Linked DNA regions of Homo sapiens: all the other regions are linked to region 1. The links are contacts of gene promoters, found by promoter capture Hi-C in human tissues and cell types (Jung and others, 2019). All regions are on one chromosome and are shown on one strand. Each heading gives the region's core, a stretch centred on a gene start or on the middle of the fragment in contact. The rest is flanking DNA. Distances are from core to core; before and after follow the strand shown.

The links. Contacts are between HindIII fragments. The study calls those that stand out against the background at their distance.
Region 2: a fragment that was not itself captured here is called in contact with the fragment with the promoter of CCDC169 in region 1 in 1 of the 25 tissues and cell types used here (mesendoderm cells).
Region 3: a fragment that was not itself captured here is called in contact with the fragment with the promoter of CCDC169 in region 1 in 1 of the 25 tissues and cell types used here (dorsolateral prefrontal cortex).

Annotation. Positions count from the first base shown.
Region 1 is chr13:36,296,015-36,300,608 of GRCh38, reverse strand. It overlaps CCDC169 (coiled-coil domain containing 169), which reads left to right and starts at 2,795. Exons shown (of 8, transcript NM_001144981.3): 1 at 2,795-2,972. The coding sequence starts at 2,890. It overlaps CCDC169-SOHLH2 (CCDC169-SOHLH2 readthrough), which reads left to right and starts at 2,795. Exons shown (of 16, transcript NM_001198910.2): 1 at 2,795-2,972. RefSeq lists enhancers at 1,244-2,206, 2,207-3,168. The HindIII fragment of the contact is 10,512 bases long and covers 1-4,594 here.
Region 2 is chr13:36,859,444-36,864,037 of GRCh38, reverse strand. The region is part of intron 5 of SMAD9 (SMAD family member 9); the gene reads left to right. Among named protein-coding and RNA genes, the nearest start is that of RFXAP, 43 kb to the right of the region's middle. The HindIII fragment of the contact is 6,808 bases long and covers 1-4,594 here.
Region 3 is chr13:36,825,960-36,830,553 of GRCh38, reverse strand. It overlaps RFXAP (regulatory factor X associated protein), which reads right to left. Exons shown (of 3, transcript NM_000538.4): 3 at 1,450-2,911. The coding sequence ends at 2,801. Among named protein-coding and RNA genes, the nearest start is that of RFXAP, 9.0 kb to the right of the region's middle. The HindIII fragment of the contact is 6,804 bases long and covers 1-4,594 here.

The sequences.
Region 1 (4,594 bases), core at 1,546-4,045:
GGCCAGGTCTCATTAACACAGGCCTCCATAACAACTGTTTCAGTACTGACTTGAGTGGCTAAGTTAAATACTAAAAGCTAAAAAAACCAAAGCCCTTATACAAAGGCTGGAATGTAATAAAAACCCACCAAGAACTAGGTCTCAAAGCATGACAAAAAAAAAAAAAAAAAAAAAGAAGGAATTCTTAGCTGGACCCATTTAGGATTAAACAAGTTTTTTGGGGTTCTGAAGGAATCCCCAAACCTCCCTGATTTAGCAGGAGACAGGGGTAATCACCCTAGCACCTGGACCCATTTAGATTAAGTTTACTGAGGCTCCAGAGGAAGGTCTTCAGGACTCAAGACCTTAGTTGTAGATTATAAAAAGTTAACCACTTAATGTCTATAGATGAATGCACACTTACACATAGACATATAGCTTAGAAGGTCTGGAAAACTGTAATTTTGAGTTGGTCTGGTTATAGTTTCCAGGGCTTCTGCCTGTAACTGGTTCCAGAAATAAAAACTCTCTTCCTCCCCAGTTCATCTACATGTTCTTACTGGGTCACAAGAAATAGCAACCCAACCCTCAGTTTGGTCTGGGAACACCCTGTGCAGCTCTCCCCTCCAATATCTGCCCTGCAAAGTCTAGCTGCCTTGTTCTCTCTAGACTCTTAGAGAAACTCCGTTTCCTCAACTTAGGGCAACCACCAGCCTCTGCCTGTTTTCTCCCTTTCTGCTTTGTACCCTGGCAGGCCCAGGCCAATTTGGGAGCTTGCCTCATTTGTGTCTCATCTCTTGGTGATCGTTTTCCCTTATTGCCTGATGTTCAATGTTCTTTTTTTGTTCCTCTTAGTTTTTTAGTTGTTTCAGGCAGGAGGGTAAATTCAGGTCCTTTATCTCTGCCAGAAACACAAATCTGTGGTTTCTGTAGTTGTTGACAAACCTGTTTTCTGCTTGCCTTTGCTCCTAATTTCCCACAGTGAGATCCTGCTAACAGATCTTTTTAAGAAATCCTCTGGGTCGGGTGCAGTGGCTCATGCCTATAATCCCAGCACTTTGGGAGGCAGAGGTGGGTGGATCACGAGGTCAGGAGTTCAAGACCAGCCTGAGCAATATGGTGAAACCCCATCTCTACTAAAAATACACAAAAAAATTAAGCCAGGCATGGTGGTGCGTGCCTGTAGTCCCAGCTACTTTGGGAGGCTGAGGCAGGAGAATTGCTTTAACACAGGAGTGGAGTTTGCAGTAAACTGAGATTGTGCCACTGCACTCCAGCCTGGGAGACAGATGAGACTCCGTCTCAAAAAAGAAATCCTCTGTATATTTGGATTTGTCAACAGATAATCTAGTCCTTTTCACTTCATTCTATTCTGTTTACTTGGTTGTGAGTTGCCCTTTCAGACTTAACAGCTAGACAAAATTTTGATAAGCATACCTCCTATATTAGGGTAATTCACAGAAACAGAACCAATAGGGAGTGTGTGTATAAAAGATTTATTATAAGGAATTTGCCCGTACAATTATGAAGGCTGAGAAGTCTCAGGATCTGCAGTTGACAAGCTGGAGATGCAAGCAAACTGATGTGCAGTCCCAGTCTGAGCCCAAGGCTGGAAAAGTGTTCCAGCTCAAGCTGTTTGGCTGTAGGAGCTCCCTCTTACTCCTGGGAGGTCAGCCTTTTTGTTCTATTCTGTCTTCGGTCGATTGGCTGAGGCCCACCCACATTGGGGAAGACAATGTACTATACTCAGTCTACCAATTGAAATGTTAATCTCATCCAGAAACTCAATTGGAAAACTATGTATTCACAACACTTCTGACACCAAATTGTGTTTTCCACACCAATTATCCCATTCTCACTAAAACCTTGGTCTCCACAACCCCTTTATTCTCTAAAGACATTCCTAAGTCTTTAGTCAGTAACTTTTCAACCAATTGCCAATCAGAAAATCTTTGAATCTAGCTGTGACCTGGAAGCCACCCCGTCCCCCACCCCTTCCAATTGCCCTGCCTTTCCCGATGGAACCAGTGTATATCTTAACATGCATTTGATTGATGTCCCATGTCTCCCTAAAATGTATAGAACTAAGCTGTACCCTGACCACCTTGGGCACGTGTTCTCAGAATCTCCTGAGGGCTGTCACCCGCCATTGGTCACTCATTTGGCTCAGAATAAATCTCTTCAAATATTTTACAGAGTTTGTCTCTTTTTGTCAAGGAAACACAGATGTATCAAGGGTAGGATGCAAACTTTGTGATTAAAAATATAATGAAATTTCAAGTTGCAGTGAGCAGCTCTGAGGTATGTTCATGAACAGCACACAGATGCAAAACAATAATCTGGAGGGTTAGCAGTCTTCCCGAGTTCAGGAGGTACCTTTTTAAGACCAGTTCCTCCCGCTCCGACACTGCCAAATCAGCGACTCTGGTGCTTGTTCAACTGAAGCAAAGAAGGGCGCAGCTAATCTTGGATCCAGCGTTTCCCTAACAAGGGCTAAGAGTGAAGCCGACTTTGCCGTCCGGGGCAATGTTTAGGAAAGCAACCAAAGCCAGCAGGAGGGAAGAAAAAGGAGAGGGATATTCTTGGCCCCCTGACACTCCGCTGTGTAGCCGGAGCACGTCTAACCCCAGCGTCTTGAGCAAGGAGTGTCCCTGGAGCTGTTATCCAGGGTCGCTCCACCGCACAGAGTAGGCTTCTCCAGTCTCCCCGGCTGCCCTCGCCCCACCCCCTGCCGCCTGCGGGCATCGCTTTATGACGTCACCACGTGCCTCTGCGGGCAGGCGCGGGAGGTGCGACCGGGGGGCGGTTGGGGTTCACCGCCTCGTGCCGTACTGGCTTCTGGGTGGCCCTTAATGTCTTGTGCTCTAAGGTGCTGAGGGGAAAGACGCGGGAGGTCTCTGGCCTGACACTATGAAGGAAGAGAGAAACTACAACTTCGACGGTGTGAGCACCAACCGCCTGAAACAGCAGTTGCTGGAAGAAGTCCGCAAGAAGTGAGTCGGCGGGCGGCGCGGTGTGGGGTCCCGTCCACACCCCCCGAGCCTTCACCTGCAGAGTCTCAGGGCTGAAGCCGCTGAGGGTGCTGTAAGACCGGCGCCGTGATTAACCCCTGGGCACTTCGGTCTGGGTTCCAAAAGTATTCCATGCGAAAGATTCACGTGCCTCTTTGAGTAAGCCTTTGGTATTGTTAAGTAGGCAGCTTTCCGGGTAGGATGTGCTGCCCTTAAGGATCCAATCATATGGCGTGTATTTTGCCCATATACTGTAATGCCAAAAGTTGTGTTTGGTTTTGATGTCTCCATAAATCCAGGTTTTCTGCTTAAAATTCCAAAGATTTTATTTAGTTATACGGGGTTTTTTTTTTCTTTCATCCCTTTAAGGGGAACTTCATAAAATGACATTTAGTAAAACTGTTACTCCTCCTTTATGCTTTTTAAAAACAGTATTCGTACTTCGTGTTAAATTTTTGAAACATTTAAAGTATTTTTTGGACATACTCCCAACTCCATCCACAAGTCCCGTGAGAATTGGACTCTCCTTTGTGCCTAGATAGGGTTCTGGGTTTTCCTCTATTGTAGCTCCAGTCACAGTATTTTAATTGCCTGTCTATTTCTTGTTTTGCTACCAAACTACACGCGTTCTGAGGACAGGTTCTGTGTATTCTGAGGAAGTAGAGAATAAGAGCAAGTACTTGAGGACAGTCCTGCAAAAACACAAACTCCATCTCTTGTCACTCAGTAACTATGCAATCTTAGACAAGTTAATTAACCTCTTTAATCCTCAGTTTTCTCAGCTCTAAGACTGGTATACAAATAGTCATCTCATACCTCCTGCTGTTGTTCCCAGGTTGGAATGAAATGCACTATAAAGAACTTAGCATTGGCTTGTGATACGCATCCAGTGGAACTTTGCTGCCGCTATTGCTATTTTTCTGTTCACTGTTCACTGAATTCTTCCGTATTTAATACAATGCCTTGAACATAATAGGCACTCAAAAATATTTATTGAATAAATGGCCCTGTCATATGATAATGTTCTATTTACTGATGCCCTAAATAGCTAACCTTTTAAATTAGTGTTTGTTTTTTTCTCTTTGTTTCAGTTTGTCAGCTGTTATGTATTGCCCTAGGTATGCCTTTCTGTAATAATGTGCAGTGCCTAATTTGCTTGGTTCTGAAAAACCAGGTAACTAACTTCTTTAGGATGATATTTAAGTTAAAAATAAAGGATTTCCAAGGGCCGGGCCTGGTGGCTCACGCCTGTAATCCCAGCACTTTGGGAGGCCGAGGCTGGGCGGATCACAAGGTTAGGAGTTCGAGACCAGCCTGGCCAATATGGTGAAACCCTGTCTCTTCTAAAAATACAAAAAAATTAGCAGGGCTTGGTGGCGCATGCCTGTAATCCCAGCTATTCAGGAGGCTGAGGCAGGAGAATTGCTTGAACCCGGGAGGCGGAGGTTGCAGTGAGCCGAGTTTGCACCACTGCACTCCAGCCTGGGCGACAGAGCGAGATTCTGTCTCAAAAAAATAAATAAAAATAAATAAAAGATTTCTAATGGTTGCCTGGGGGTCTTTGAGCTTTAGTGCATATTTGAGTCCTAGAACTGACTAATTGG
Region 2 (4,594 bases), core at 1,155-3,654, 560 kb before region 1:
GTTCAATTTCTGCTGGTGCCAGTGGATCCAAAGACAGGATTAAAGTATTAAAGGAGTGCTGAATGTGTTCTAGGAACCTGTCTGCAAGTCGCTTCTTCAAGGTGCTCCTGCTGAGGACATGGAGAGTGTGTGGTAGTCTGTTTCACTGCTATAAAGGAATACCTGAGACTGGGTAATTTATTAAAAAAAGAGGTTTATTTGGCCCATGGGTCTGCAGGCTGTACTGGCATGTGCTTCTGGTGAGGGCTTTAGGAAGCTTCTGAAAATCACTGTGTAAGGCAAAGGAGAGCCTGTGTGTCACCTGGGAAGAGACAGAAAGAGAAGGGAGGGAGGTGCTGGTCTCTTTTTAACAAACTGATCTGGCAGGAACTAATAGAGTGAGAATCCACTCATTACCTCAAGGAGGGCACCAAGCAGATCATGAGAGATCCTTCTGTGTGACCCAGATACCTCCCACCAAGCCCCACCTCCAATATTGAGAATCAGATTTCGATATGAGATTTGGAGGAGTCAAATATCCCAATTATATCAGTAGCTCCTGTGTTGTTGACTGAGAGCTCGTCTTTAGGGTTAAGAAGCCACATGAGCAAGAGCTGGGACTGATGACCTGTTCTGCAAACTGGAGCACCTAATAGTGCTCCCCTCGATGCAAGGGTACTCACTGTCACATGGTCCGAAGACAAAGTTACAGTTTTCTCAGAGCTGCTTAGAAATTACTCCAATGTGGAAAAAAATTTTTTTTTGGACATGCCACAAGCCTTGCCATAAAGCGTGTGGGTGGAAAAAAGTGTTGGCTTGGGAGATTTTAAAGCAAGGGCAGTCAGTCTTCTGTGAGATCACAGGATTCTCTCTCAGATGCTGCCATGGGTTATCTGGTTCTGAGCAGCATGGCTTCCAGGAGCACCAGCCTGAGTAAGTTATCTGCAAAATGCATTCCTCGGCTAGCAAATGAGTTAACTTGCTCTGTGGAGTTAGTTAACAGACATTAGGTTTTAGTAATATGCATTCATCTCACGAGTACTTACTGAGCATCGCCTCTCAGCCAGACTGGACACGAGGGATGCAACAGTGGAAGAAAGACCATGAGCAGGCTTCCTGGATTGCTTGCTGCTGGGGAAAGACAGACACGAAATACAACATACAGTATGTCCAATAGAGAAACACAAAGCAGGGGAAGAGAATGGAGACTTTAAACCAGCGTAACCAGGGAAGGCCTTCCTGGAAAAGTGACATTTGAGAAGATGTTACCAGAAAGGTGTCCCGATTCAGACCCCAAGAGAAGATTCTTGGAACTCACACAAGAAAGAATTTGGGGTGAGTCCATAGAGTAAACTGAAAGCAAGTTTATTAGAGAGGTAAAGAAACAAAAGAATGGCTACTCCACAGGCAGAGCAGCAGCATGGGCTGTTCGACTGATAATGTAGTTATTTCTTGATTATATGCTAAACAAAGGGTGGACTTTTTCCTTTTTCATGAGTTTTCTGGGAAAGGGGTGGAGATTTCCTGGAGCTGAGGGTTCATTTCCTTTTTAGACTATATAGGGTAACCTGGGCACGGCCATGGAATCTGTAAACTGTCATGGTGCTAGTGGGAGTGTCTTTTAGCATGCTGATGCATTATAATTAGCATATAATGAGCAGTGAGGATGACTAGAGGTCACTTTAATGCCATCTTGGTTTGGGTGGGTTTTGGCTGGCTTCTTTATGGCACTCTGTTTTACCAGCAGGGTCTTTGTGACCTGTATCTCGTGCCAACCTCCTATGTCATCCTGTGACTAAGAATTCCTAGCATCCTGGGAATGCAGCCCAGTAGGTCTCCACCTTATTTTACTCAGCCCCTATTCAAGATGGAGTTGCTCTGGTTCAAATGGCTGTGACACAGAGAGCAAGGAAGTCAGTGTTCGTGGAGCCTGAACCAGTCTGTCAGGTTAAATTTTAGAGCTCCCTGGCTGAGGAGAGGGGGTCCATTCAAATTGTTGCGGGGCCTTCCAGTTTTATTTTTGGTTTACAATATGATCTGACTTTACACTTTCGAAAAGATTGCCTGGCTGTTCTATTGAGATTAATTAGACGGTGATGGGCAAGGATGGAAGATTTTTTTTTTTTTTTGAGACGGGAGTCTTGCTCTGTCACCCAGGCTGGAGTACAATGAAACGATCTCAGCTTACTGCAACCTCTGCCTCCAGGGTTCAAGCGATTCTCCTGTCTCAGCCTCCTGAGTAGCTGAGATTACAGGCGCACACCACCACACCCAGCTAATTTTTGTATTTTTAGTAGAGAAAGGGTTTCTTCATGTTGGCCAGGCTGGTCTCGAACTCCTGACCTCGGGTGATCCCCTGCCTTGGCCTCCCAAAGTGCTGGGATTACAGGTGTAAGCCACCCCACCTGGCCTGAATATATCATTTTTAAAAATTCTTTTTAGTGACCAGACGCAGTGGCTCATGCCTGTAATCCCAGCAATTTGGGAGGCCAAGGCAGGCAGGTCACCTGAGGTCGGGAGTTCGAGACCAGCCTGGCCAACATAGTGAAACTCTGTCTCTACTAAAAATACAAAAAATTAGCCGGGTGTGGTGGCGGGTGCCTGTAATACCAGCTACGCAGGAGGCTGAGGCAGGAGAATCACTTGAACCCAGGAGGTGGAGGTTGCAGTGAGCCAAGACTGTGCCATTGCACTCCAGCCTGGGCAATAGTGCAAGGCTCCATCTCAAAAAAAAAAAATTCTTTTTATTATAGTTAATGATGAGCCATTCCCCTACCCAGTAGATATCAATTAGCCTTCACACCATTTCTGGCTTTTATTCCTTGTGACTTAAATTAGCTAAATGGCTGGCCCTGCTAAAGGAAGGTCATGTTGCCACCCTGTCAGCACTGCGTGCATTTTGAGTTTTGTTTTCTCTAGTGGTGATGATGGGTCCTCATTTACCCCACTTACCATCTAGTGGGTATGTCCCTGAGGTAGAGGGGCTGGTAGAAAGCATTTATTTGTAGCCATGCAGCAGTTAACTGGTACAAAGGGACTGAACTTATGACTTTGACCTCACTAGCAAGATGCTTTAAATAGCTACTAACAGTTAGCACTAGCACACCAAAAGCTACCACTTAAATGTCAAAGGCAATACCTTGGGCAGCCTGGAACATCTCATTCCAGTGTGGGATCTATCCATATTCTTCCTTAGAAACTAGGCAGACCACTTGAACTCTCTACAATGACATATCAAATAATAATAATATGATGATGATGATAGCTACCCCCACTGATTACCTAATATCTAAGAGACACGCTGGTGGCCGGGCGTGGTGGCTCATGCCTGTAATCCCAGCACTTTGGGAGGACGAGGCGGGTGGATCATGAGGTCAGGAGATCGAGACCCTCCTGGCTAACACACTGAAACCCCGTCTCTACTAAAAAATACAAAAAAAAATTAGCCGGGCGTGGTGGCAGGCACCTGTAGTCCCAGCTACTCGGGAGGCTGAGGCAGAAGAGTGGCGTGAACCCAGGAGGCAGAGCTTGCAGTGAGCCGAGTTGGTGCCACTGCACTCCAGCCTGGGCGACAGAGCGAGACTCCATCTCAAAAAAAAAAAAAAAAGGTAAAAAAATTTCTCCCTTTGTGGGAGAAAATAAGTGATAACCATTAACCCTGGTTATTGAACTTTCTGAGATAGATCAAGCGTATCCTGAAAATAATTATCACATATTCCAAATCATTGCATTGTTTTTGGAATTGGGCTTTTTTTAAACCATTTTATGAATCTTTATTTTCTTGTATATCTCAAGTTCTGTATAATTCTAGTAATTCTTCTTGTTTTATGAAAGGAATTATCTTGACATAAGGATTTCACCAGTCAGCTCCTTGCAGAGATGTTACCGGAAAGCGGTCCTGACCCAGACCCCAAAAGAAGGTTCTTAGATCTCTCACAAGAAAGAATTTAAGGCAAATCCATAGAGTAAAGTGAGGGCAAGTTTATTAAGAAAGGAAAGGAATAAAGAATGGCTGCTCCATGGACAAAGCAGCCACCAGGGCTACTGGTTGCCTATTTTTATGGTTATTTCTTTTTTTTCTTTTTTCTTTTTTTTTTTGAGATGGAGTTTCGCTCTTGTTGCCCAGGCTGGAGTGCAATGGCACAATCTCGGCTCGCCTCAACCTCTGCCTCCCGGGTTCAAGCGATTCTCCTGCCTCAGCCTCCTGAGTAGCTGAGATTACAGGCATGTGCCACCATGCCCTCCTAATTTTGTATTTTTAGTAGAGATGGGGTTTCTCCACATTGCTCAGGCTGGTCTCAAACTCCCGACCTCCGGCAATCCACCCGCCTCGGCTTCCCAAAGTGCTGGGATTTCAGGCGTGAGCCACCGTGCCTGGCTGGTTATTTCCTGATTATATGCTAAACAGTGGGTAGATTATTCATGCCTCCCCTTTTTAGACCATATAGGGTAACTTCCTGATGTTACCATGTTCGCCATGGCATTTGTAAATTGTCATGGCACTGGTGGGAGTGTAGTAGTGAGAATGACCAGAGGTTACTCTCATCGCCATCTTGGTTTTGGCCAGCTTCTTTATTGCAGCCTGTTTCATCAGCAAGGTGTTTATGACCTGTAT
Region 3 (4,594 bases), core at 1,407-3,906, 530 kb before region 1:
TTTTCCAGCTTTGCTGGAAAATGGAAGCTGTGAATTCCTTTATGTTCTTATTACTACAAATAGACATGTATATTTATCATATCTCCTCAAATGAACTGGCACAGAATCACTTGTGCCATATTTTGTTAGAGCAGTCATAAGCCTGCCCAGATTCAAAAGGATAGAAAAGAAAATTTATATCTTAATGGACAACAATGCATAAGAGCATGTGGGGTGAGAGATACTGTGCAGACATCTTTGAAAAATATGGTCTGCCACACCTAGCTTGAAAGCATTTGCACAGCTATTTTAAATCACAGTAATCATATACAGAACTGTGAGAAATAATAATGGCTTCAAGCCATCAAATTTTCAGGTGATTTGTTTTGCAACAATAAATAGCAGCTAGGTGTATCAGCTACCTACTGTCACAAAAATGCTGCATCTAACACACTACCCCAAAACTCTGTGGCTTACAATCATAATTTATAATTGCTCACAAATCTACAGGTCAATTTGGTGGCTCTGCAAATTTGGGCCAGGCTTGGCTGATCTCAGTTGGTTATCAAGTGTATCTGCGGTCAGCTGGCAGGCTGGCTGGACAGCTTATCTAGCATAGCCTCATTCACATGTGTGGCTGGTTGAGAGCTATTAGCTGGTACAATACAGGTGACTGGACTATGTGTCTCATTATCCAGGAAGCTAGGCTGGGCTTCTTACCATGGCAGCAGGGTAGGACTCTAAAAAAACAAGTGGAAATGTTCAAAACTCTCAGAAGTCTATTCAGAGATGGCATCTTGTTATGTCCTCTGCATTTTACTGGCAAAAACAAGTCACAAGGCCAGTCCTCTAGATTTAAGGGGTAGGTAAATAAACTCAAGCTCAATGGGTAGGATGAGCAGCAAAGTCACACGGCAAATGGCATGAGTAAACACAAGGATAAAAAACTGGAGACACACTGCAATACATCTACCCAAAATAAACCTTATTGCTTTATTGATCATTTTATAAGGTAAAAAAATGTCTAATGTGGCAGACAAAAATTAAATTGTGTTGAATATTGTCCTACTATTCTTATCCAAATTCATGAACAGGCAGCTACCTTATCCTAAAAAATATCCTTGGTAAAGATTCTGAGCCTCTCAGTTATCTATCCCACGTCTGACAATTACTCATCATCACAAAGTTCTTACAAATATTTAAATTCAGTCCCTTTTCATTCAGCTCTCACTGGGCTATTATTTTCCCTCCTTTCCCATTTCCATCCATTTCCCATTTCCCTCCTTTCCCATTATTCCATCTAAAGAAGCATAAGCTAATGTTTTCCACCATAAAGGGTAACTTAAGCTTCAAAAAAACTCTCAACATCGTAAGTATGAGAATAAACTAACAGTTAATAACAGACAGTAGATGAATTCCTCTGCATCTAGTAAGAATAAACTAAAGAACAGAATAAAGAAATCAGCTAACTCAAAGGTCAACAACTGGACTTTAATGAATTAATTTTGTTAAAAGTGTTTTGAACAGATATGCAAGTAAAAACACACACATTAAGAAATGAACAAAAACGTTCTTGCTCTCCATAAGTACTTCTTAGAACAGCCATGATTAAGTCGAACTTTATATATAGAGTTTAAAAAACAAGTAACAAATTTTTGTAGAGTTAAACTTGAGACACATACATTTATATCCTAATATTGGATATACTCTCTTGACATTTAATTTGTTATTCCTATTGGTAGGTTTGCCTTTTTAAAGTTTTAAAGTTTTCCTAGGAGAAAGTATAAGAAAAAGGTATCCAGATTACTTATCATTTTTGAACATTACTTAGGAATAACAGTTTTCAGATAGCTCAATTGCGAAAAACAATGACAAAATACTGGAGTGTTAGTTTTATTTTCAGGATCACCTTTTTGAAAAGGATCTTTTTCATTTTGTTTAATAAAAAATAAGTATAAGAAAAATAATTTTGTCTTGGCATTGGTGGGCTGAGATCTATACTGTTCACAAATTCAACAAACAAGAAATGTCTGCTTTAAGAGATCAGCACTAACAGGTAACATCAAAGAGAGAAGCCAACTGTAGGAGACACATCCCAGTGTGCTTAGTTAATCCGTCAGGTTTTACTAACACACCTCTGAAAAGAGATGCACATCCTAAATTCACAGATATTAAACAATAATCACTTTCCTTACGTCTATATAAAATGTGCTTACCTCTTTGACAGCTTCAGTCTTAACTGCAAAGAAAGGTTATTAAGAGAACCCAATTATAGGTGCCCCAACTACATGTTAGCACCACAAAATAGCCATCAACATTTCTTAGGAGTGTTATTGGCACTGCGGGTGAGACAATCTTTAGTATGTGGGACTACCCCTGACACTGCAGAACATTTAGCATTCCTGGCCACTCACTAAAAGCCAGTGGTTTTCAAGGTCACTATGACAATCAAATTGACCCTTGATGAGAACCACTGAGCTAGATGAGTCAAGATTAATATCTATTAACTTTATGACTTCCACAGAAAGTAACTGCTTCATTACCTTCAGTAACAATGACTGAAGAGGAATATATTTTTTAAAAAACATTATAATTAAATGTTATTTGGAAAGATAAGCTGACTTCTTCAAACTCACAGTAATCTGAAAGATTAGATGCACAAAGTGCAATACTTACTTATCCCCAAATGCACACATACATTTACAGGAAAATGTTTATGTTCTACAGGCATAGATTATTACCCCATTTATGTCTGGTAAAAAAATATGCTCATCTATTACAATAAGATAAAAAACCATGTAGATGTTCTTGGTAAGTTCCCTCACATTGATGTTCCTGGAAACTGCTGTTGTCTTTGCTCCAAAACTTGCTGATTTAATAGCTGTTGCTGTTTCTGTAAAAATTGCACTACTTCTGGACTTCTTAGTAACGACTTAGAAAGAAAAGAAAAAAATTATTAATAGCATTAATCTATGTCATTAGACTGTTTTCATGCTAATTACTCTGATGTGTCCCTACATATGATACAATATGTTCACAAGAATATGCCTGAATCAAAAGCACTTTTACATCGGATGCACTGCAACTAAGCTGCAAACTAAAAATAATGTGATGTCACACATCAAAATACTAAAACCTAAAAATAACGGGTGAAGTCTGTTATTGGTGACTTTGTGTAAAAAGGAAACACCTTCTCTAATATGCCAGCAAATATACTCTCTTGAAATATGTAAGAACAAAGAGCTAAAAGTAGCACTGACCCAGGATTATAGCAAGAAAAAAAATGGAGATGAAAGGGGGCCACATGTGAAAATAGCAGCTAAATGCCAGTTTGTACATACATACAAACTAGTGCTAGAAGTCAAGTTTCTCATTAGGCAACTAAGTCTTCATAAAGAAATTAAAAATTGTGTGTATAGGTGTGTATATATATATATGTACATATATATCGGTATATACCAAAATTTCAGGAAAAAATATAACTGCTCTAAAACATCCAATACCTTTTTGTACACTCATCACTTTAAAATATAGTTGTAATAATATAACAAATATAACAGACTATGATTAACATATTATTATTAGAGACAGGGTCTCACTCTGTTCCCCACGCTGGAGTGCAGTGGCGTGAGCATAGCTCACTGCAGTCTTGAACTCCTCGGCTCAAGCAATCATCCTGCCACAGTCTCCTGTAATAGGTTTTTATAATAAAATACTTACATAAATTTATAGAGAAAAAAATCTTTGGCCCCAATAAGCTGCAAAAAGATAAACTGAATAAAGTGAACATACTATCATTAAATACTGACTTTCAGATTATATGTATTATATCTTAGTACATTTTCTATTTATTAAACAGTTTTATTTAAAAATCATCTTAGCTGTTATGACACTGTTGGACATTTAGGCTGTTTCAACTACCTTTTTTACTATTTATGAGAAATATATTCCTGGCAATACCTTTATGTTTAACTCTATCCATATTTAGGATTTACATTCTGTAAATGTCTTCATATTAAATGTGATGTCTGAGTTGAAAGGGATGACTCCTGGTACATATTGCCCAACTGCTTTCTGAAAGTGCCATACCAATATATAATGCCATTAACTACTTGAGAATGTCCATTTCATGAAAGTCTCCACATCACTGCATCATTGTGCGTAATCGTTTAAATAATTTTCACTTTTTGTTTATTTTTACTGATATTGAATACCTTTCCATATCATTTAATGGTATTCTGCCTTTTTTTTCTGTTTCTATCTTTTGCAATGTATTGAAGCCAAAGGTTTTCCTCATCAAATTACAGGAATTTTTGTAATAAACTTTCTTTGCAGTTAAGACTGAAGCTGTCAAAGAGGCAAACATATTTTATATATATGTAAGGAAACTGATCATGTTTAATGATTTATAGGGTGCTCTGTTGCCTAGGCTGGAGTACAGTGGTATGATCATAGCTCATTGCAGCCTCGAATTCCTGGACTCAAGCAATCCTCCTGTTTCAGCCTCTTGAGTAGCCAGGACTACAGCTACATACCATCACACTCGGCTAATTTTTAAATTTTTTTGTAGATGGGGTCTCGCTACGTTGCCCAGAATGGTCTCAAATTCCCAGCC